Regions from separate parts of the Homo sapiens genome. Here regions 1, 3 and 4 are each linked to region 2. The links are contacts of gene promoters, found by promoter capture Hi-C in blood cells and fetal thymus (Javierre and others, 2016). All regions are on one chromosome and are shown on one strand. The core of a region is centred on a gene start or on the middle of the fragment in contact, and the rest is flanking DNA. Distances in the headings are between cores, read along the strand shown.

What was found. Contacts are between HindIII fragments. The CHiCAGO score rates a contact against its expected background, and 5 or more counts as called.
Region 1: the fragment with the promoter of CYP1A1 here is called in contact with the fragment with the promoter of CYP11A1 in region 2 in 5 of 17 cell types (M2 macrophages, M0 macrophages, erythroblasts and 2 more); the score reaches 8.9 in M2 macrophages.
Region 3: a contact is called between the fragment with the promoter of CPLX3 here and the fragment with the promoter of CYP11A1 in region 2, in 1 of 17 cell types (M2 macrophages). The highest score is 6.0, in M2 macrophages.
Region 4: the fragment with the promoter of CYP1A2 here is called in contact with the fragment with the promoter of CYP11A1 in region 2 in 3 of 17 cell types (M0 macrophages, M1 macrophages and M2 macrophages); the score reaches 8.8 in M0 macrophages.

What each region holds. Positions count from the first base shown.
Region 1 is chr15:74,722,645-74,727,727 of GRCh38, forward strand. It overlaps CYP1A1 (cytochrome P450 family 1 subfamily A member 1), which reads right to left and starts at 2,884. Exons shown (of 7, transcript NM_001319217.2): 1 at 2,797-2,884; 2 at 1-482. The coding sequence starts at 453. RefSeq lists a promoter at 2,592-4,496, a cis regulatory region at 3,347-4,721, enhancers at 3,373-3,396, 3,429-4,628, 3,767-3,789, 3,864-3,878, 3,927-3,950 and silencers at 3,441-3,721, 3,441-3,616, 3,461-3,540, 3,612-3,721, 3,721-3,880. The HindIII fragment of the contact is 9,244 bases long and covers 1,643-5,083 here.
Region 2 is chr15:74,364,111-74,369,273 of GRCh38, forward strand. It overlaps CYP11A1 (cytochrome P450 family 11 subfamily A member 1), which reads right to left and starts at 3,536. Exons shown (of 9, transcript NM_000781.3): 1 at 3,207-3,536. The coding sequence starts at 3,475. It overlaps LOC124903524 (a long non-coding RNA gene), which reads left to right and starts at 1,352. Exons shown (of 2, transcript XR_007064709.1): 1 at 1,352-1,395; 2 at 1,552-5,163. RefSeq lists a silencer at 1,919-2,078, a promoter at 3,486-5,163 and enhancers at 3,668-3,692, 5,114-5,163. The HindIII fragment of the contact is 5,873 bases long and covers 11-5,163 here.
Region 3 is chr15:74,825,377-74,830,560 of GRCh38, forward strand. It overlaps CPLX3 (complexin 3), which reads left to right and starts at 1,251. Exons shown (of 3, transcript NM_001030005.3): 1 at 1,251-1,491; 2 at 2,658-2,745; 3 at 4,754-5,184. The coding sequence starts at 1,328. The coding sequence ends at 4,978. LMAN1L (lectin, mannose binding 1 like) reads left to right here. Exons shown (of 14, transcript NM_021819.3): 14 at 100-378. The coding sequence ends at 229. It overlaps LOC105370897 (a long non-coding RNA gene), which reads left to right and starts at 2,756. Exons shown (of 2, transcript XR_932478.1): 1 at 2,756-3,512; 2 at 3,742-4,325. RefSeq lists a silencer at 1,233-1,440. The HindIII fragment of the contact is 16,039 bases long and covers 1-5,184 here.
Region 4 is chr15:74,747,210-74,752,434 of GRCh38, forward strand. CYP1A2 (cytochrome P450 family 1 subfamily A member 2) reads left to right here and starts at 1,636. Exons shown (of 7, transcript NM_000761.5): 1 at 1,636-1,688; 2 at 2,521-3,360; 3 at 3,980-4,100; 4 at 4,556-4,645; 5 at 4,915-5,038. The coding sequence starts at 2,530. RefSeq lists a cis regulatory region at 1-305 and promoters at 1-1,726, 1,392-2,529. The HindIII fragment of the contact is 9,803 bases long and covers 1-3,646 here.

The DNA of each region.
Region 1 (5,083 bases), core at 1,634-4,133, 360 kb after region 2:
TGGGTCAGAGGCAATGGAGAAACTTTTCAGGCCATTCTGGGCCAGGCGCCGGCGGGCAGCCCACACTGGTCCAGAGTCTGGGCTGAAGGACATGCTCTGACCATTACTGATGAGGGTGAAGGTGTAGAGGTCGGGCCGGCCCTTGAAATCATCGCCCTGCCGCACCAGGGCCTGCCGGATGGTGTCCAGGCCGCTCAGCACCACCACGGGTGTGGAGCCAATTCGGATCTGCAGCACGTCCCCATACTGCTGGCTCATCCTTGACAGTGCCAGGTGCGGGTTCTTTCCCAGGGTCAGCATGTGCCCAATCAGAGGCCAGCCCCATGGCCCTGGTGGATTCTTCAGGCCTTTGGGGACCTGAGGTCTTGAGGCCCTGATTACCCAGAATACCAGACAGAAGATGACAGAGGCCAGAAGAAACTCCGTGGCCGACATGGAGATTGGGAAAAGCATGATCAGTGTAGGGATCTTGGAGGTGGCTGCTGAGAGAAGGTGCAGGAAGAAAAAAAGTCAAGCCGTCAGATTGGGGGATGAGAAAAGCCAATATCTAGAGTGTCAGGGAAAGGGGAAACCTTTCCACCAGAACTGCTTACTGGGCATGAAGAAGAGGGTGAGGTGGGGAGAAGTTGTTGAACTACCACTGTGGGCTAAGAATTTCACAGTCCTTCTTCATTCAGCCCTGGCCACAAATCTATGAAGTAGCCTGCAATGAGGCTCAGAGAAGGTAAGTAACTTGCCCAAGGTCACACAGCCAGAAAGTGTTGGATGCAGACTCCCAAGCCAAGTTGCCTAATTCCAGAACGCTTTCTCTTAACTGCTGTACCAATCTAAACTGACATCTTCCAATGTCAATCTGTGATTTCCACATAGTACCAGTACTGTTATTTACTTCACATTTTCCTAAAATCAACTTTAAATCTACCTACATATCATCATAAACAATATCTATGTGAAAGTACAAGTTTGATTTTTCCCCTAACACATTAAAATAAACACATAATCAAGGTGTATCACCCCGAGTCCTACCCACCACACTTAGGAAAATCATGTTCTCAGGGGAATTAGGGATCATCTGATCCTTTAGCCTCATTTAACATTTGGGGGAAGCAGCGCTGACTTGTCCAAAGTCCCCCAGCAATCAGTGACAGAGCCAGGACTCAGACTCCTTAGGGACACTTCCCTGGAAATTTCCAGCTGCTGTCACATGTACCTCCTTTTGAAGAGTGGTCAGATCAATGAAGGAATTTTCCCAGAACCCTCAGTTCTCTGCTGCTCAATCCCAGGATGCAGGAAATCCCACCAGACCCCAGGACAGACTGAGGAAGAGATAGGGGACAGGATGGCCACTTCCCAAACCACATTGCTTTCAGCCCCAGCTCTCTGAGTTCAACTGATCCACAGTTTAAAGGCAGCTGGAGACCAGCTAGATTGAGCTCTTTAGTCAGAGAAATCCAGGCCAGGGTTTTTTTTTGGCTCAATTCTCAATGAATGAACAGTTTGGACCTCCCCCTTTTGCAGGTTACCAGAGAGCAGAGAATAAATGGAAGGTTCCCACTAGGCTGTAAGAAAACCCCAGACTGGAATCAGGGAAATCAGGAATGGATCTAAACTGAAAGGAAACTGAGGCAATACTTTCTCTGTAAGCTTGACCTAAAAAGGGTGTTTAAATTCATAAACCACTCTCTCCAACATATCAGGCATCTCTGCCTGTTACCCTGGACTAGAGGTCAGTAGACCCAACATTCTAGTCAAAGTGATCTTGGACTGCACATTTTACTTTTCTGGGGTCCAATTTCAACATCTGAGAGAGGGTAAGACAAGATCTCTCAGTTCAGAGTACCCAGCTGGATCCAGAGGGAAGAGAAAACCCAGATCTGCTGTGGGGAACCTGACAGTCTTACCAGTTAGGCTCCCCACAGGAGAACCTCACAAGACAGGGAGATGGATGGTTCCTACCACAAGTATTATAGTGGAGGGAGGCTTCCTGGAGGGGCTAAATATCAAAGCACACTAGATCCCTGAGTCAACAGGGGACAGTGCCAGGCTTTGGTGTGCTATGGTGTCCCCTTCTGCACAGTGGGTATCCCAAGGACCTGCAGCCTTTGTAAGATGGTAGGAGGCCAAGGGAGATGTGACTGGTGAGTTTTTAGGGACTGGTATTTCCAGCTCCCTGCAGTTGGCAATCTGTCACCCTGATTGTCTCCCAGCAAAGGACAAAGAAGATGGTCAATGAGATAGGAAAGGCCTGGGACTCCTGCACAGATCTGCCTCTATTGTCCCAGCTGTCTAGGACATCTCAGCACTGACAAGCCACCCTTAGGAGGGTAAAATCTGCCAGGGGTAGCTTCTTAGGCTAGGGCAGGGTACAGCTGGTAAGAACCCAGCCCACCCCCTCCATCCACCCTGTCCACCCAAGGAGAAGCCCCTGTCATCAGAAAGCCTGAGGGAGGGGCTGCACATATTCCAGCCTGCCAGGTGGCCTTGATGGGGAAGCCCCAGGGTAGGCAGGGAGACACTCACTAGGGGATGGAGCTGGAGCCTGGGTCCTGAAGTCCTGAATGAGATGCCATCTGTATCTAGAGGTCTGGTACCAGCTGTGGGACCATGGGCAAGTCCTCCTCTTCCCCTGGCCTCAGTTTCCCCACTAGGGGGCTAGACTGCCTGGTCACTAAAAACACTCTGAGCCTCCCTTTTTGGAGGTGCTAGACAGGTAGCTACCTAAGAAGTCCTGGAGGCACCAAAATGTTCCTTTTATTGGGAGAGAAAGGGCAAGCCAGAAGTCCCCCAGCAACTCACCTGAGGTACTGAGCTGAGCTGGGAAGGGTGGACTCTTGGAGCCTGGGATCACAAGGATCAGGGAAGGTTCCAAGGAACTGTCACCTTCAGGGTGAGGGTGAAGGCACTGCCACCTTTATAGGCGGGCTTGTACGTGTGGCCACGCCTCCTTCCCTGGAGCGAGCTGAGATGGAGGGAGAAGCAGCCTGAACCGGGCTGGTCTCTCTGGGATTGGAGAGAAAGGTGGCGGAGGGCGGCGGGGGTGGGGGGTCGGGTGGGCAAGAACCCACTATGGGACACATCTCGGTGCCTGTACATAGAGGGGTGAGGGCTGGGAACACCTGGAAGTCCCAATTCCAAGGCGTCCCAAGGGCAGTGCAGAACCCAGCCGAGGAGGGGGCTTGAGGGAGAAGTCCCAGGACAGCCCGAAGAGAGGGTACGGGAAGCTCCATCCTGGGGCGCGGGGACTCCTCTTCGTCATTTTTGCACCCACTGGAACGCTGGGCGTGCAGATGCCTCCCCAGCGCTACAGCCTACCAGGACTCGGCAGGCGGGGGCGGGGCTGCCCCGTGGTGACCTCCTTCCCGGGGTTACTGAGTCCCGGCTCGCGTGAGAAGCGCTGCGACCCCAGCCCTGAGGTCACGGGGGCCGGAAGGCCAGAGGCGCCGCGGGGCTGGACCTGTCCCCCAGAGCCCGGGCGACTAGCTGAGGTTCGCGCCTCTTGATTGAAGGATCGGAATGGATGGCGAAGGGGCAGGCTCGCTGAGCGCTCACTAGCGGCTCCTCGCAGCCTCTAGGATCGCCTTAGTGCTGATTGCAACGCGCGGTCCCTCCAGCCAGGACCCACCGGCCCTTGAGGGTCCCTCTTGGCTCCCGGGGTGGCTAGTGCTTTGATTGGCAGAGCACAGAAATCCGGCGGCGGGGGGCCACGGAAAGACTCGGGCCCAGGGACCACGGAGGGGGCACCTGGCGCGGAGCCCCCACCCTACCCCCGGCTAGCTTGCGTGCGCCGGCGACATCCCTCTAGGGGGCAGAGGTCAGGCGGCCCGTCCCCGCCCCACCTGGCCCGGAGGCGCGGTGCCCAGGCGTTGCGTGAGAAGGACCGGAGGCCCGCGCAGCCACCCAGCCGACCCATTCCCCGGCCCGGCGCGGGGGCTCGCAGTCACGCGAGGGGGGAGGGAGTCGGGGCGGGGCTCTTAAAGGGCCAGCCTCGCGCGCGGCGTGGGGTTGGGGTGGAGGGAGAGGAACTGTCGAAGGGTGGCGGGTGCGCGATTGAATAAGGGGATGCGGTGCAAAGGGTCTAGGTCTGCGTGTGGCTTCTGCCTGCGAGGAGAGGCAGCCTGCATGTGTCCGCATTTTCGGTCCACGCCTGTGGCACGACACGAAGCCCCAGTGCCATTTGGCATGGCCTAGCTGCCTGCCTCCGACGCTGTCCCGCCCTCCGGAACCTTCCTGTTACAGGGTTTCCAGGAAAAAAAAAGTTGTATTTGCGTGCCTAGCTCAACCTGGCCCCAGCTAACATCGTTACGCGCCATCCCCGACGTGCTCCCCAACCCGGTGGCACCACCATCCGTCGCTGGTCCAGGCCAGAAAATAATCCCCTCACCTCCCATTCCGGTCATATGCGGCCTCGTGCATTGCACAAATATTTACCAAGCAACTACTATGTGCCAGGAGCTGTTCGGAGGCGCTGGCGATTGACAGAGAAGGGAACACAGCTGACAGCACTCCTAATCTCGTGGAGTTTACATTCTGATGGAAGGAGACAAGTAATATGCCCCAAATCTAGAGAATGTGAGAGGGTAAAAAGTGCGGTTGAAAAAAATTAAACAGAAAAGGCGTACGGATTATGTGAGGGCAGATTGCAATTCAAAACAAGGGGGTCAGGGAAGGCCTTGCGGAGAGAGGCAGGAGTGTGGAGTCAAGAATCAATGTGCATAGATATCTGGATAAAAAGTGTACCTGGGCAGGTGCGGTGGCTCACGCCTGTAATCCCAGGACTTTGGAAGGCCGAGTCGGGAGGATCGCCTGAGGTCAGGAGTTCAAGACCAGCCTGGCCAATATGGCAAAACCCCATCTCTATCAAAAATACAAAAATTAGCCGGGCATGGTGTTGCTCACCTGTAATCCCAGATACTGGGGCGGTGAGGGGGGTTTGGGGGGAGTGGAGTCAGGCAGGAGAATTGCTTGAACCTGGGAGGCAGATGTTGCAGTGAGCTGAGATCACGCCACTGCACTCCAGCCTGGGTGACAGAGCGAGACTCCATCTCAAATAAAAGACTGCAACTGGCAGAGGGAATAAGCAAAA
Region 2 (5,163 bases), core at 2,286-4,785:
GAGACCATCAAGCTTCAGATGATCATGTAACAAAGGTTCCAGCCAGTTCCAAGTGAAGACACCACCCCTGGACATCAAGAAGCTACCCTTCCTCCACTAGATAGAGCAGGGTGAGAGTTCCATGATCCCCAATAGGTAGGGACTATGCCCCAAGCCAGCATGAAGCAGTTACAGAAAAAAGACCATCGGTCCCTCTGCCTCCCATAAAGATTTATGGGGATCACATCTCTTGAAGGGGCAGATGAGGCAGGAAAATAGGGTCTGAAGTGTGAAGATCGATTCACACTTCAGCTATAACAGGAAATATCCTCTCCATAGGGTGTATGACTATGTAACTTGAATACTTCATCCTCTCCATTTACATAAGGTGTATCTGAAGTAACCAATGGAATCCTCTGGGGGTAAATGCCCCACAATTCTGTAACGGGACCTTTGAGCCCCTACGCTCCGCCTGCTCCCACACTGTGGTGTGTATGTTCATTTTCAATAAATCCCTTCATTCCTTCCTTACTTTGTCTGTGCATTTTGTCCAATTCTTTGTTCAAGACGCCAAGAACCTGGACACCCTCCACCGGTAACAAAGGGGCTTAATAAAATAAGGAGTTGCTACTGAGGGTCTAGGAAGTGGTGAAAAGGGAAGAGAGGAGGAAGCAAGGATAACTAGAGATCTATGTGAAGTGAGCACGGGACAGAAGCACTAATAGGCCTAGGAGAGAGGGGGAGGAAGGAGAGACCCAGCGGGGCGCAACCTCCCAAGCCCAGCACTCAACCTTGAATAGGGTGGGGTGCGGGGTGGGGGGAGCTCCCTGCCACCAACCAGCTATCAAAAGGGGCAGTTTGGACTTTAAAGGAGTTGTGAGAGAGGGAGGGAGCAGCTGAAGCCCCAACACAAACTAGCCTGCCTTCTCACCCACCCCCAGCCCAGTCATCAAGCCGGCCAACACATCTTACCCTTCCCTCTTCGTGACTGACCCATTGGAATGCTCTGAGTTGTAAAGACCTTTCACTTAAAGGAAAACGTACTGTCCCTCCTGGTCTCCCCTCCCAGCCCCCAACCACCCCTGCGCCACCTCCGTTCCCTCTCAACCGGACTCTTAGCAAAGAACCCAGGTGTGGCTGAAAGGCTGCCCACCGTGGGAACAGCTTTAGCAGTTTTCCCAGGAAAAAGCCACAAGCCCTGGAGGCACAGAGGCCCAAAGACAAAAAAAAAAAAAAAAGGCCTTTCCTCCTAGCAGGAAGCAAGCCCGATTCTTGGGAAAGGGAAGGGACAGACTCAGAGCCTCAGGGCCAAGGGGTGAGATCCAGCACCCCAGCAGGACAGGAATCTAGCTGGGTGACCTCTCTGAGCCTCAGTCTCCTCCTCTGACCATGGGGACAACAAACTTCGCTTGCAAGGTGTGCGGAGGGTAACGGATGTAGGGAGGCATTTAGTAGGGCTTGTTCTCTAACCACCTCTCTCCGAGAGTTTCAAAGGGAGTGGGATCTGGGGAAGGTTGAGGCCTCAGGCCTGGGAACTAGGAATACTTTCCCTTTTACCCACCACCATCCCAGGCCTGGAAGAAGATCAGAAGTTGGACAGGAGAGGTCCGGCCGCGCGGACGTCACCTTAGCGCGCCACTGTCGGCTCCGGTGGGCTCGGGTGAGCTCGGGTGAACGCAGCGAGCGAGGGCAGAGGCCAGCAGAGGCGAGGAGTGGATGCTGCAGGGCCGCAGGCCGGGCAGAGAAACGCATACCGGGTCGCTCCCTGCTTCGCCGCCGCCTCCTGGCAGGGCCAGCGAAGCCAGTGCTCCAGCGCCCCCGTAACACCTCAAAGCGCACGGAGTCCGTGTTGGGGAACTTGGCGGCAGAGTGACTGGGACCTAGGACCTGCGGTGGGGCCGCCGCCGCCTCCGCGGGGCCGAGCGCCTGGACCTCGCCCTGAGGTAAACGCGGGTCGACCCGGGGGGCGGATGGGCTCGGGCTGTGTCGAGGGGAGGCGGAGGTGAGCGACCCGCGAAGAGCGCAGGAGCAGGCCGGGGGCCACGCTAGGGCGGACCCAATTTCGGAATAGCGCGGCCCGGGCGGCGGCGTGCGCTGGGAGGAATGCTGGGTCTGTCGCTAGCGCCAAACTTGACCACGCTGCGACCTTTTCACTCTGTGCTCTGACCTTCAAATCTCCCTCCCCCGATTTTTTTTTTTTTTTTTTTTTTGAGACAGAGTTTCGCTTTTGTTGCCCAGGGCGGGAGTGCAGTGACATGATCTCGGCTCACTGCAACCTCCACCTCCTGGGTTCGGGCGAGTGTCCTGCCTCAGCCTCCCGAGTAGCTGGGATTATAGACCCCCGCCACCATGCCCGGCTAATTTTTTTTATTTTATTTATTTATTTATTTATTTATTTATTTATTTTTGTAGTAGAGACAGGGTTTCACCATGTTGGCCGGGTTGATCTCGAACTCCTGTCCTCAAGTGATCCGCCTGCCTCAGCCTCCCAAAGTGCTGGGATTACAAGCGTGAGCCACCGCACCCGGCCTTCTCCCAATTTTTAAAACTCGCTGGCTGGGCTGACAGCTACAGGGCCAGGAATTCAAAACTTAGCCTCACCAGTCTCCCCTCCTCAGACCGAGGAGGTTGTTTTGTTTTGTTTGAGACAGAATCTCACTCTGTCGCCCAGGCTGGATTGCAATGGTGCGATCTCGGCTCACTGCAACCTCTGCCTCTCCGGTTCAAGCCATTCTCCTGCTTCAGCCTCCCGAGTAGCTGGGATTACAGGCGCCTGCCACCACACCCAGCTAATTTTTGTATTTTTAGTAGAGACGGGGTTTCATCATGTTGGCCAGGATGGTCTCGAACTCTTGATCTCAAGTGATCCGCCCACCTCGGCCTCCCAAAGTGCTGGGATTATGGGTGTGAGCCACCATGCCTGGCCAGACCTGGGGTTTGGACCCATTAAAGAGCTTCCTTACAGATGGCTGGCGGTCTTGCCACCAATTGTTTCAAAAGTAGATGTCTGGTTTAGAGTACTTAAGACATTCACAGATTCAAATGTTGAATTTTGAAATATCCCTGATATATTTCTGTATTGTATTACCAAAAAAAAAAAAAAAAAAGAAGTTAGACAGGAGTTTGGAACCAGAGAACAGCCTGTTGGGGGAGTGGGGACTACAGCAGGGCTACCCAGGCCCCTCCTCCTCCCTGTCCCTTCGGCTCCCACCCTCTGCCAGGCTTACCTGTAAATCGGGCCATACTTCTGGAAATTCTGGACATGGTGAAGGTGGACTTTGTGTGTGCCCGTCTCCCTCCAGAAATGGTACAGGTTTAGCCAGCCATTGTCACCAGGAGAGGGGATCTCATTGAAGGGGCGAGGACTGCGGGTGGAGATGCCAGCTCCCTCGCCAGTGGGCACCCTGAGACGCCCCAGCCCCTCCCTGGGGGCACTCAGAAAGGTCTGGCAGCCTTTGACCAGGACTGAGCGTGGGGGAAGACCCTTGGCCAGCATGCTGTCCCCACAGCTGTGACTGTACCTGCTCCACTTCAGCGGGGACTGCTAGGATGACTGTAGCCCTGGGCCACCAGGGCCAAGATTATAACTACCAGCTCAAGGCCATACCAGAAGCTGATAAAATGTTCACGTCCTTCCTCCTGCTGCAGGCTCAAACCCGCAGACAGCTCCTCCCCTACTCGGTATGAAGGTTCAGTCTGGAATTTCTGCAGCGTGAGGTTCTCCAAAGGACAGGGAGACCCCTCTGTCTCTGCCCTCAGTGCCAGCCCTAGCAGACTCCTGAAATATCTGCCTGTGCTTTTGCCTGAGCTGGGGCCTCCCACTGGCCCCTGCAGCGGAGTCCATGCCCTGGCAGCCATTGGTCAAGACTGCAGACAACCTGTGTTTGGGGGAAATGAGGGGCCCAAGAGAAGGTCAGAGCTATCTTGCCAGCTTGGGCAACATACGTCTTAGTTATGGCCCCACTGTATAGACACACATCATTGAACAACAGGGATAAGTTCTGAGAAATGCATCCTTAGGCTATTTTATTTTATTTTATTTTATTTTATTTTATTTTATTTTAAGAGAGTTTCATTCTTGTTGCCCAGGCTGGAGCGCAATGGCACAGTTTCACCTTGGAACCCTAATCCTCGTCGTCTCTCCCCAGTTGACCCAGATTTGGGGCTGTAATTCAGTACAGCTGACTCAGAGGGGCTCTGGGTCCCTTGAGCTGAGGTCTGTGGTCAGGCTCCACTCTGGACACACTCTAAGACCTTGGCAAATCTGGTTGCCATGGAACTCAGGATGTCAGCTCTTCCCTGTCCACACACTTGATCTGTGCTGCTTTCCCCTCAGAGCTGCTTCCATACCCCCTCCCATCATATCATATCCCCAGACCCATCCTTCCAGCCCAGGTCAGCCCCCACACCCACCCCCCATCACCCTGCACCTACCACTTTCCCAAACAACAAGGGTCAGTCACCTGTAGAGTTTTCAAGTCATTTCAACAAAATTACAGCCCACTTGGTAAAAATGTGTAGGTCAGAAAACATACATGTGCCATGTAGAGCATTTCATGACAGCAATCTACACTATACCTTATACTTATCATTGGAAGGTACAACTTCTTGCTTTTTTTCCCCAAAATCTTATTTTCTGGCAAATAAGGCATTTAAAACACACATCTAAGAGACAGAAAATAGACTGGTGGTTGCTTAGAGCTAGGGGGATAGAGGAATTAGAGGATGGGACATAAAGTGTGTAGGGATTCTTAGGATGATGAAAATGAAAATATTCTAAAGTATATTGTGGTAATTATTGAACAACTCTCTGATACACTAAAAGCCATTGAATTGCATACTTTAAATGGGTGAATTGTATGGTGTGTGAATTATATCTCAATAGAGCTGTTACCAAACACACACACACACACACACACACGAGTGACATCCTCCTGGCCTCTTCTGTTGTATGTGTCAGCCCATAGATCACCCACAATGGCAAAAGTTGTCCTTACACAGCCACTTGACCCCAGACTCCAATACTGTTGAACCACTTTCAACAAATTTAGAGCAACAGTTTTTAGAAGAAAAAAAAAAAGTACTTATCAAGAGTGGTTGTTGCTCTTCCCGCTGGAGTGACCACTACCTCATCAGTCATGAACCTTCTGATAAAGAGAGTATGGAGAAAGCCTGTTTTGCCTC
Region 3 (5,184 bases), core at 1-2,500, 460 kb after region 2:
GGTGCAGTGAGTGTAGCAAGGCAAGCATGAGAGTCCTGGTTTTTCAAAAGCCCATAAAGGAGAGACGCAAGTAACCTGTAACCTTCTCTCTGGCAGCAGGCAGGAGCTGAACAAGAGCCTTCAGGAGTGTCTGTCCACAGGCAGCCTTCCTCTGGGTCCTGCACCACACACCCCCAGGGCCCTGGGGATTCTGAGGAGGCAGCCTCTCCCTGCCAGCATGCCTGCCTGACCCACCTCAGAGCCTGCTTTGCATCACTGGGAAGCAGGCAGTGTCTTGGGTGGGGGCTTGGTCAGTATCCTCTCCGTCTGGGTGCCCAGCTCCCACGCACACCTGAGCTTTCGGCATGCTCCCACCTCGTTAAAGGTGATTTCCCTCTCCCCATGCTGTGATATGCTGGTCTTCTTTCCAGCCTCACCCTAATCTCTGTGAAGGCTTCCACCCCTTCTGAGTACCTGGCTGGGAGTGCGCTCCAAGCAGGCAAGGAGGCCAAGGCCTGGCTTAACCTCCAAAAGACCGGATACCCCACGGGCTTTGAACCCTCGACTATGGAGGGAAAGAGAGCCATGACTGTATATAATTCTGTCCTCAAACTCACCCATAACAGAGAGCAGTGTCTCCCAGTGTCCCTCCTGGCCCAGCTCAGCCAGCATCACTGAGCAGCTCTCTCCCTCCCCACTCCTAGCTGCTCCAGGGGCAGCAGGGGAGGCGCGTGACAGAGCAACCCTGAGAGGCCAACTCGTGGAACCATAACTGGGATTCCCGCTCGCGCCCTCAGGTCTCCCTCCCTTTTCCAGCGTCAAGCTCTCTGGGCAGCTGCTGGGTTCAGTGACTTGGGTGGGTGGGGAGAATGGGGGGCACCCAAGGCTGGGTTTTTACCCCTTGCTGCTACCTGGATCTCCCAGCTGAAATCCTAGTTATTAGTGGCCCAGGAGAGGAGAAAGTTGGAAGAGGCTATGGAACAGGGTTCCGGGAGTGTATGAGCTCAACCCCTCTCCCGGGAGAGCGACCCCACCACCGCAGGCCCTAATCCTCTGTCAGCAGTGCCCAGCGGAGCTCGGCGTTGAAGGAGGCACGTGGGGGAGGCGGGAGTGGGGAGCGGGCACGTGGTCCAGCCTTCTCAGCCCCGTGCTGCCCCCCGCCCCCAGTGAGGAGGGGTTTGGGGAGGTGGGGGCGGGCCCGGGCGGGGGCGGGCGGCGGGCGGTGCCAAGCGTGGGGCGCGGGCCCGCGGCGGGAGCTGTCCGCGAAACCTAGTGCTGAAGTAGGCGCGGACGTGCCCGGTGCCTGGCGCGTGGTAGCAGGCGCCCGGTGCCCCGGCCGGCGAAGACCATGGCGTTCATGGTGAAGACCATGGTGGGCGGCCAGCTGAAGAACCTCACTGGGAGCCTGGGAGGCGGCGAGGATAAGGGAGATGGGGACAAGTCGGCAGCCGAAGCTCAGGGCATGAGCCGGGAGGAGTACGAGGAGTATCAGAAGCAACTCGTGGAAGAGAAGTGAGTGGGATCCCTTCCTGGCTCCAACGACCTCCCCTCCCCACCCCCACAGCTGCTCAGTCCATCCCCGGGCCAGCCTCAGGTCCCAATCCCTTCTCCCCTACTTTCCTAGACACGGTAAGAGACCGGGAGGTGTCCTCTACACTGCCCCCAGACCCATCCTATCTGACACCCAAAACCCCGCTCCAGCATCATGCTCCGGCCAAGGGGGAGTGGGGGGAGGGGCGACCGGACGAGGGACCGACCGGAGCCTGGGACGAGGAAGGGGGTGCACGTGCGTTTCTGACGAAACGATAATCCCTTAATCCGATCTGGTCCCAGCCGCCTATGTCTTCCAACTGGGGCTCCTCTGAACTTGAGGCTCTGAAAAAAGTGGTGCAGCCGCTCAGAGTCGCGGAGACAGACCCTGAGATGGGGGCACTCACAAACATTGAGCACTTGTGTGCCCGCAGTGCTGGGACAGAGTTTGGGGCTGGACTCTGCTGCTAGGCTACTTGGGTTCAGAGCCTGGCTTTGCCTATTAGCTGGATAACTTTAGGCAAGTTACTTAACCTTTCTGTGCCTCTGTTTCCTTTTCTGGAAAGTGGGGATGGTAATCATAATACATGCCTTGTATATTTATGAAGATTAAATGCCAATGCATGTAAACTGTTTAGCACAGCACCTGGCACATGATAAAGTCTCATAAATGATAGCTATTATTTCGCTCAATCCTGATAACAGTTTTGTGAGTTGCAAAATTTTATCCCCATTTTACAGAAGAGGAAGGTAAGTGACTTACCTAAGGATATACCTAAAATGGTAGTGGAGCTGGGATGTGAACCCAAGTTTGGCCTGAATACTTTTCCCCACATGACATAGCTTGTCAGTGAGGGAACAGCAGACCAAGTTGGAGGCCATGAGGGACAAATAATTAGGATCTGCAGAGAGAGCCAGACAGACTGCCACCCTGGTTCCCTAGTTCCATCCAGTGGCAGAGACGACAAAGGGCACTGTGATGGGCAGAGGCAGCAGAAACCTGGATGTCCGGGTTGGAGCGCTTTTGCTACACACAGGGACCAATGCAGCAGCTGCTAGGACTCAGAGACCCCTTCTGTCCCTCCCTCGAAGACCTCAACCCCCTTCTCTCAGCCCTCGTGGTGACTCTGCCTCCGGTGACCCTGCAGGATGGAGCGGGATGCACAGTTCACACAGAGGAAGGCAGAGCGGGCCACACTGCGGAGCCACTTCCGAGACAAATACCGGCTACCCAAGGTAAGCTGGCCCCGGCTGTGAGGCACATCTGGGACCCTGAGCTCTGGGTTCTGGACTCCTTCGCCCCATTCTGGGCACCACAGCCCTCAGCTATGAGACTCACAGGGTATTTGGTTAGATCCTTCCTTCTCATTCATTTGTTCTTTTATTCATTCACTCACTCGTAGTTAAATCTGTGCCCACCAAGGGCCAGGGCTTTGTGCTGAGGGGACCCCAGTCCTCATGAGACTGACAGGTCTGTATTTCTGGAGCCAATCTAGGCCTCTTCTCTCCTCCACCCCCCATATCCCCACCAAGCCTGGGCCAGGCCTGGGCAGAGGAAGACACAGGGGAGGCAGAAATCAGTAGATTTGACTGCAGAGGTGAGTGTTCTGGGGGTTTCTGAACCTACTGAAGGGCAGAACTTACTTAAGGTGGGGGAGAGAAGCCCTGTGTGTGCCAAGTACTTGACCTTCATGTCCTCATCTAACCCCCAATAATGCTGCCAGGCAGCTATCACCCACAGCGACAAAAGATGAAACTGAGGCTAAGAGAAATGGAGGGACTTGGCTAAGATCATACAGCCAGTGAGCCATGGAGCTGGGACCAGCCCTCAAGCCGGTGAATATGAGCCTGCCTTTGCTCCAGGGCCCCAGGCTGCTTTCCAGAGTATGGAGTCTGCCCGTAGAGAGCCAAGTACCCCCTTGGCCGGCCAAGCAGCCAGAGAGTATATCTCAGGAGATCCCTGCCCCCACGCTCCCCTGGGCAGTGCACCACCAGATGGGCGTGTAAGTGTGCTGCTCCTGTTGTCTAAGGAGGGGAATGAAGCACAAATCTCTCCCAGAATATCACCCTAGTGCATCCAGAACTGTGCTGGACTCAGGGGAAAACAGCACAGGGCTATAGCGCTCCTGATTTTGATCTTCCACTTGAATTGAATGACCAAATATATGAACATCACATTCACTCATTCAACAAATATTTACTGAGTCCCCAGCTGCTTCTGACTCCCCACAGGGCACCAATCTTTTGGAAATCTGTCACGGGGAAAAACCGGTCCAGAAAGCCTGCCTCACTGCAAACTCTTCTAGGAATAAAATCATTCCTCAGATGCTTGCGCTAGGCATATAAGAGACACCTGCCATCAGCAAAGTCAGAGTTGAGCAGAAGAGCCAAGACTTGGATGCAACTGAGTAGGACATAAGGCGCCCCCCAGAAGAATAGTGAAGGGCAATGGTCATCGTAGGTGCCATGCAAAAAAACACAGATGTTGGAATCAGTGACATAGGTTTGAATCTAGCTCCCCAACATCCTGCCTGTGTGATCTTGGATAATTTAAGTTACTTAAGTTACTTAAGTTAGTTAAGTAACTTAAATTTAAAGTAAGTTACTTAAATCCTGTAAGCCTCAATTTCCTTATTTGTGAAGTGGAAATAACAATACCTACCTACCTCACAGGGTTATTGTGAGAATTAAAAGCACCCAGCTCAACGTCTGCCATGTAATAGATATAATAGATGTTTGATAAATGGTACCCATCACTATTTTTGGTTACACCCTTAAGCATAACAAGAGTCAAAACATGACTTAGCTGACTGTAACAGTGTGACTCATAGGTATTTTCATTTTGTCTTTACTCACTGTGCTGGTCCTTCAGCATCTCAGAGTGAAATAAGGTAATATAAAAAGGTCTCCATGTCCAGGCATCAAACGCTTGATCCTGGGATGTGGGGGTGGGAGCTGAGCTCACTGGAACATGGGGCTCAAGAATCTAAGGGGCCGGGCACAGTGGCTCATTCCTGTATTCCCCCGGCACTTTGGGAGGCCAAGGTGGGCATATCACTTGAGCCCAGGAGTTTGAGACCAGCGTGGGCAACATAGGGAGACCTCGTCTCTACAAAAAAAAAAAAAAAGAAAAAATAGAATCTAGGGGCCTGGAACCCAGTCCAAGCCTCCTCCCTGTCCTCTCAACTCTGGGTCCTCACAGACTTCCACTCCACCCCACCCCCTCTTCCCCTCTTCCCTTCAGAACGAGACAGATGAGAGCCAGATCCAGATGGCAGGTGGAGACGTGGAGCTGCCCCGGGAGCTGGCCAAGATGATCGAGGAGGACACAGAGGAGGAGGAGGAGAAGGCCTCAGTCCTTGGGCAGCTGGCCAGCCTTCCTGGCTTGAACCTGGGCTCACTCAAGGACAAGGCCCAGGCCACACTGGGGGATCTCAAGCAATCAGCTGAGAAGTGTCACGTCATGTGACCACTTCCCCGGGGTTACCCACTGGGCTGGGCCCCCATGAGGGCTAAGAGTGTGTCAACTTCCAGGGACCCATACTCCATTTGGGGCTTTGTTTCCCTTGCCCCATCCTAGTTCCAAGACCTTTCCCATCCATGCCCCAAGCCTATCTTCTGGTTTCTTCCTCTCCGCTGGGAGTAAAGTCCCCATCTTCACTCTACCCTTCAGGA
Region 4 (5,225 bases), core at 386-2,885, 380 kb after region 2:
GAGGCAAGAGGATTGTTTGAGCTCAGGAGGTCGAGGCTGCAGTGAGCCATGATTGTGGCACATGAACCCCAACCTGGGTGACAGAGCAAGACTCTGTATCTAAAAAAAAAAAAAAAAGATAGCAAACTTCCTTTTCACATCCAATTTAAGGCTTGTCCTCCTCCTCCTCTTAGATCTGACTGAGATCTGGGTCCATATTAAAGACTCCTTTAGTACAACAAACACCATATATCCTCACGTAAGTCCATGAATATCTGACATTTCTCATATCTACTTTCTCTCGATTTATTGATAGATAGGTATACATTGTTTTAATTTTATGGGTACATAGTAGGTGTATATATGTATGGGGTACATGAAATGTTTTGATACAGGCATGCAATATGAAATAAGCATTCATGGAGAATGGAGTATCCATCCCCTCAAGCAAGGATAAACCTTTGAGTTACAAACAATCCAATTACACTCTTTAAAGGTGTACATTTTTTTTTTTTTTGAGACGGAGTCTCACTCTGTCGCCCAGGCTGGAGTGGAGTGGCACGATCTTGGCTCACTGCAGCCTCCACCTCCCAAGTTCAAGCCATTCTCCTGCCTCAGCCTCCCGAGTAGCTGGGATCACAGGCACATGCCACCATGCCTGGCTAATTTTTGTATTTTTAGTAGAGACGGAGTTTCACCAGGTTGGCCAGGCTGGTCTTGAACACCTGATCTCAGGTGATCCGCCCATCTCGGCCTCTCAAAGTGCTGGGATTACAGGTGCGAGCCATCGCGCCTGGCCTAGAGGTGTACATTTTTTAACAGAACCATTCAAAAGGAGGTTGTGGGGATCATGACACTTCCATGCTACAGCATTAATCTCCTAAGAATAAGGATACACTCCCACATACCATGACACTCTGTTCACACCTAAAAAAATTTACATTTATTCCAGAATATCATCTAATCTCCAGTCCGTGCTTACATGTCCCCAATTGTCCCCAAAACATCTTTTATAGATTTTTTTAAAATTTTGTTTAAATGCCATATCCAATCGATATGGCAATCAAATGCAAATCCATATTGCATTTGGTTATGTCTCTTAGTCTTTTTGCATAAGGGGGGCCTCTCTTTAGGATGCAAAATCTTTATCATCTCTTCTTTTCCACTTGGGGACTTGGGCTGAAAATCAGGAGTGGCTGGAACACGCCCATTTACTGTTTGGTTTTGCAGGTTGTTGGAGGGTACTACAGAAGAACATCCCTCTGGAGAGGGGCCGTGAGCCTGGTTGGCCTAGACTGAGTGCCCTGGCAGAGCTCTTCCTCATGTGTGCAGTGGGAAAGAAGCCCAGATCAGTCCAAAGGCCTAACCCCCACTCCCAGACCCTACCCTACTCTTCAGAGAAATAGGCTCCCTACCCTGAACCCTAAAGACAGCTGTACCTTCATCCCCAGGGACCCAGCACCCCTTCTGGCCTATCCCCAAAGAGTCACCCTGGGTCTTAGGTAGTAGGTGGAGCTGAGGGATAATGGCCCAAGGCCAAGAGTTGATCCTTCCAACTTTGTTCAGTGATCCAGCTTTCATATCAGGTGATCAGGACAACCAGGCCAATCTGATAGGGGGCGGTGTTTATAAAAAGGCCACTCACCTAGAGCCAGAAGCTCCACACCAGCCATTACAACCCTGCCAATCTCAAGCACCTGCCTCTACAGGTACCTTTCTTGGGACCAATTTACAATCTCTGGGATCCCCAACTATAGAACCTGGAAGCTAGTGGGGACAGAAAGACGGGGAGCCTGGGCTAGGTGTAGGGGTCCTGAGTTCCGGGCTTTGCTACCCAGCTCTTGACTTCTGTTTCCCGATTTTAAATGAGCAGTTTGGACTAAGCCATTTTTAAGGAGAGCGATGGGGAGGGCTTCCCCCTTAGCACAAGGGCAGCCCTGGCCCTGGCTGAAGCCCAACCCCAACCTCCAAGACTGTGAGAGGATGGGGACTCATCCCTGGAGGAGGTGCCCCTCCTGGTATTGATAAAGAATGCCCTGGGGAGGGGGCATCACAGGCTATTTGAACCAGCCCTGGGACCTTGGCCACCTCAGTGTCACTGGGTAGGGGGAACTCCTGGTCCCTTGGGTATATGGAAGGTATCAGCAGAAAGCCAGCACTGGCAGGGACTCTTTGGTACAATACCCAGCATGCATGCTGTGCCAGGGGCTGACAAGGGTGCTGTCCTTGGCTTCCCCATTTTGGAGTGGTCACTTGCCTCTACTCCAGCCCCAGAAGTGGAAACTGAGATGATGTGTGGAGGAGAGAGCCAGCGTTCATGTTGGGAATCTTGAGGCTCCTTTCCAGCTCTCAGATTCTGTGATGCTCAAAGGGTGAGCTCTGTGGGCCCAGGACGCATGGTAGATGGAGCTTAGTCTTTCTGGTATCCAGCTGGGAGCCAAGCACAGAACACGCATCAGTGTTTATCAAATGACTGAGGAAATGAATGAATGAATGTCTCCATCTCAACCCTCAGCCTGGTCCCTCCTTTTTTCCCTGCAGTTGGTACAGATGGCATTGTCCCAGTCTGTTCCCTTCTCGGCCACAGAGCTTCTCCTGGCCTCTGCCATCTTCTGCCTGGTATTCTGGGTGCTCAAGGGTTTGAGGCCTCGGGTCCCCAAAGGCCTGAAAAGTCCACCAGAGCCATGGGGCTGGCCCTTGCTCGGGCATGTGCTGACCCTGGGGAAGAACCCGCACCTGGCACTGTCAAGGATGAGCCAGCGCTACGGGGACGTCCTGCAGATCCGCATTGGCTCCACGCCCGTGCTGGTGCTGAGCCGCCTGGACACCATCCGGCAGGCCCTGGTGCGGCAGGGCGACGATTTCAAGGGCCGGCCTGACCTCTACACCTCCACCCTCATCACTGATGGCCAGAGCTTGACCTTCAGCACAGACTCTGGACCGGTGTGGGCTGCCCGCCGGCGCCTGGCCCAGAATGCCCTCAACACCTTCTCCATCGCCTCTGACCCAGCTTCCTCATCCTCCTGCTACCTGGAGGAGCATGTGAGCAAGGAGGCTAAGGCCCTGATCAGCAGGTTGCAGGAGCTGATGGCAGGGCCTGGGCACTTCGACCCTTACAATCAGGTGGTGGTGTCAGTGGCCAACGTCATTGGTGCCATGTGCTTCGGACAGCACTTCCCTGAGAGTAGCGATGAGATGCTCAGCCTCGTGAAGAACACTCATGAGTTCGTGGAGACTGCCTCCTCCGGGAACCCCCTGGACTTCTTCCCCATCCTTCGCTACCTGCCTAACCCTGCCCTGCAGAGGTTCAAGGCCTTCAACCAGAGGTTCCTGTGGTTCCTGCAGAAAACAGTCCAGGAGCACTATCAGGACTTTGACAAGGTGAGCCCGGGGTGCAGGTGGCAAGGGGCACCTTGCAGGGCCTGGGTGCAGCCCCTCCCTCCCAGCTCCAGCATGCCCACACAGCTGCTGTGTTGCCAAGGCCTAGGAAGGCTCTGGACACCTCAGACCAGCTGTGTGACCTGGAGCCGACTCTTCCCCTTCTCTGGGCCTCAGTTTCCTCATCCTTGAAGCCCCCTTCTCAGGGCTCCTCAAAGCCCCCAAGAAAAAAGCCCTGGAAATGGGGCCCTAGCAGAGTCCTGCAATGTGGGGGGCCTATGAGTGAGAAAGCTTTCATTCTGCAGAAACCTAAACCCCAACAGAGGCTAATCCCCAGCTCTGGTGTCACGTTGCTTCCCTGTGTTCACACTAACCTTTTCCTTCTTTGAAATTGGACCCCTGGTGTTATTGGGAGGAAGGGTCAATGGGGCATAAAATGACACTTTAAGCCATACCCAGGGCTGCTACCAGCTCCTGCTGCAAGCTGCAACCCCCTGCCTAGAGACCAAGTTGGGAGGATAGGGGGGTACCCAGCCACCAGGTACAGGCCAGGGGAGTGGAGCAACGTTCAGCCTTTGACCTTGGAAGTGCCAGAGGTGCCCCTAAGCTTGTGCCCCCTCAGAACAGTGTCCGGGACATCACGGGTGCCCTGTTCAAGCACAGCAAGAAGGGGCCTAGAGCCAGCGGCAACCTCATCCCACAGGAGAAGATTGTCAACCTTGTCAATGACATCTTTGGAGCAGGTAGGAACCAGAACCTTGCCCCTCCATCCAACAATGCCTGCTGTTCACCCACAGCCTTGCCCAGCCCCTCAGTCCATGAAATAACCCACCAACCCTACACCAGATGGTACAACATACTGAGATCTGGCTTGGGATCAGGGTTTGAGCCTGGGCTATGCCACCAATTCCCAGTGGAGAAACAGCAAAGTCCTTCTCCTCCCCTAGGCTTCAGTTTCCCCATCTGAACAATAAGGTGTTCTCTGGCCTGTAAGTCTAGGCCCCTATAATTCCAGCAGCTAATTCTGAAACCTGTATCTCAAGTTTATGTTGAAGAGACCCAGCCTCTGTCTTCAGGAAACTCACAGGCTAGGGCCAGAGAAAGCTAATGCTGGATACATACATAGCAGATACTTGGGAAATGATGGTTTCCTTGTTTCTGTCTTCCTTCTTTCCTCACCTTACACTACACGGTTCAGGATTTGACACAGTCACCACAGCCATCTCCTGGAGCCTCATGTACCTTGTGACCAAGCCTGAGATACAGAGGAAGATCCAGAAGGAGCTGGGTACATGGGGGCCCCCAACCCTATAGCCAGGAGAAGCCTTGAGACCCAGGTTGTTTGTTCAGTCTACAAACACCTGTTATGTGCCTGCTGTGTGCAAGCCCTGGGCACACAGTAGTGCCTGCCCTTGCCTAGAAGATGTGGGAGGTTAGTGGGGTCGCAGACTTGTGAATAGACAGTCTTACATAAGAGTGACATGGGGTATAAGAGGGGATAATTCATGGGGCAGTTAGGGCAGCCCCTGAGCTCTGCTTGTCCTCTGTGTTCTACAGACACTGTGATTGGCAGGGAGCGGCGGCCCCGGCTCTCTGACAGACCCCAGCTGCCCTACTTGGAGGCCTTCATCCTGGAGACCTTCCGACACTCCTCCTTCTTGCCCTTCACCATCCCCCACAGGTGAGGCCTGCCGGTTCTGCCCTCCCACCTCTAAAGTGCTTGCCATGTTTTCTCTTCCTGGCTTCTCAGCCCTGGCCCTGGCTCAGCATCTCCTTCCCGACCTCGTTCCCCACAGATCCCGGCCTCAGTCTGCCCCCATCCAGTCCAAACATAATCTAACCCCCAGCTCTCAGGAGAAAGTTCCACT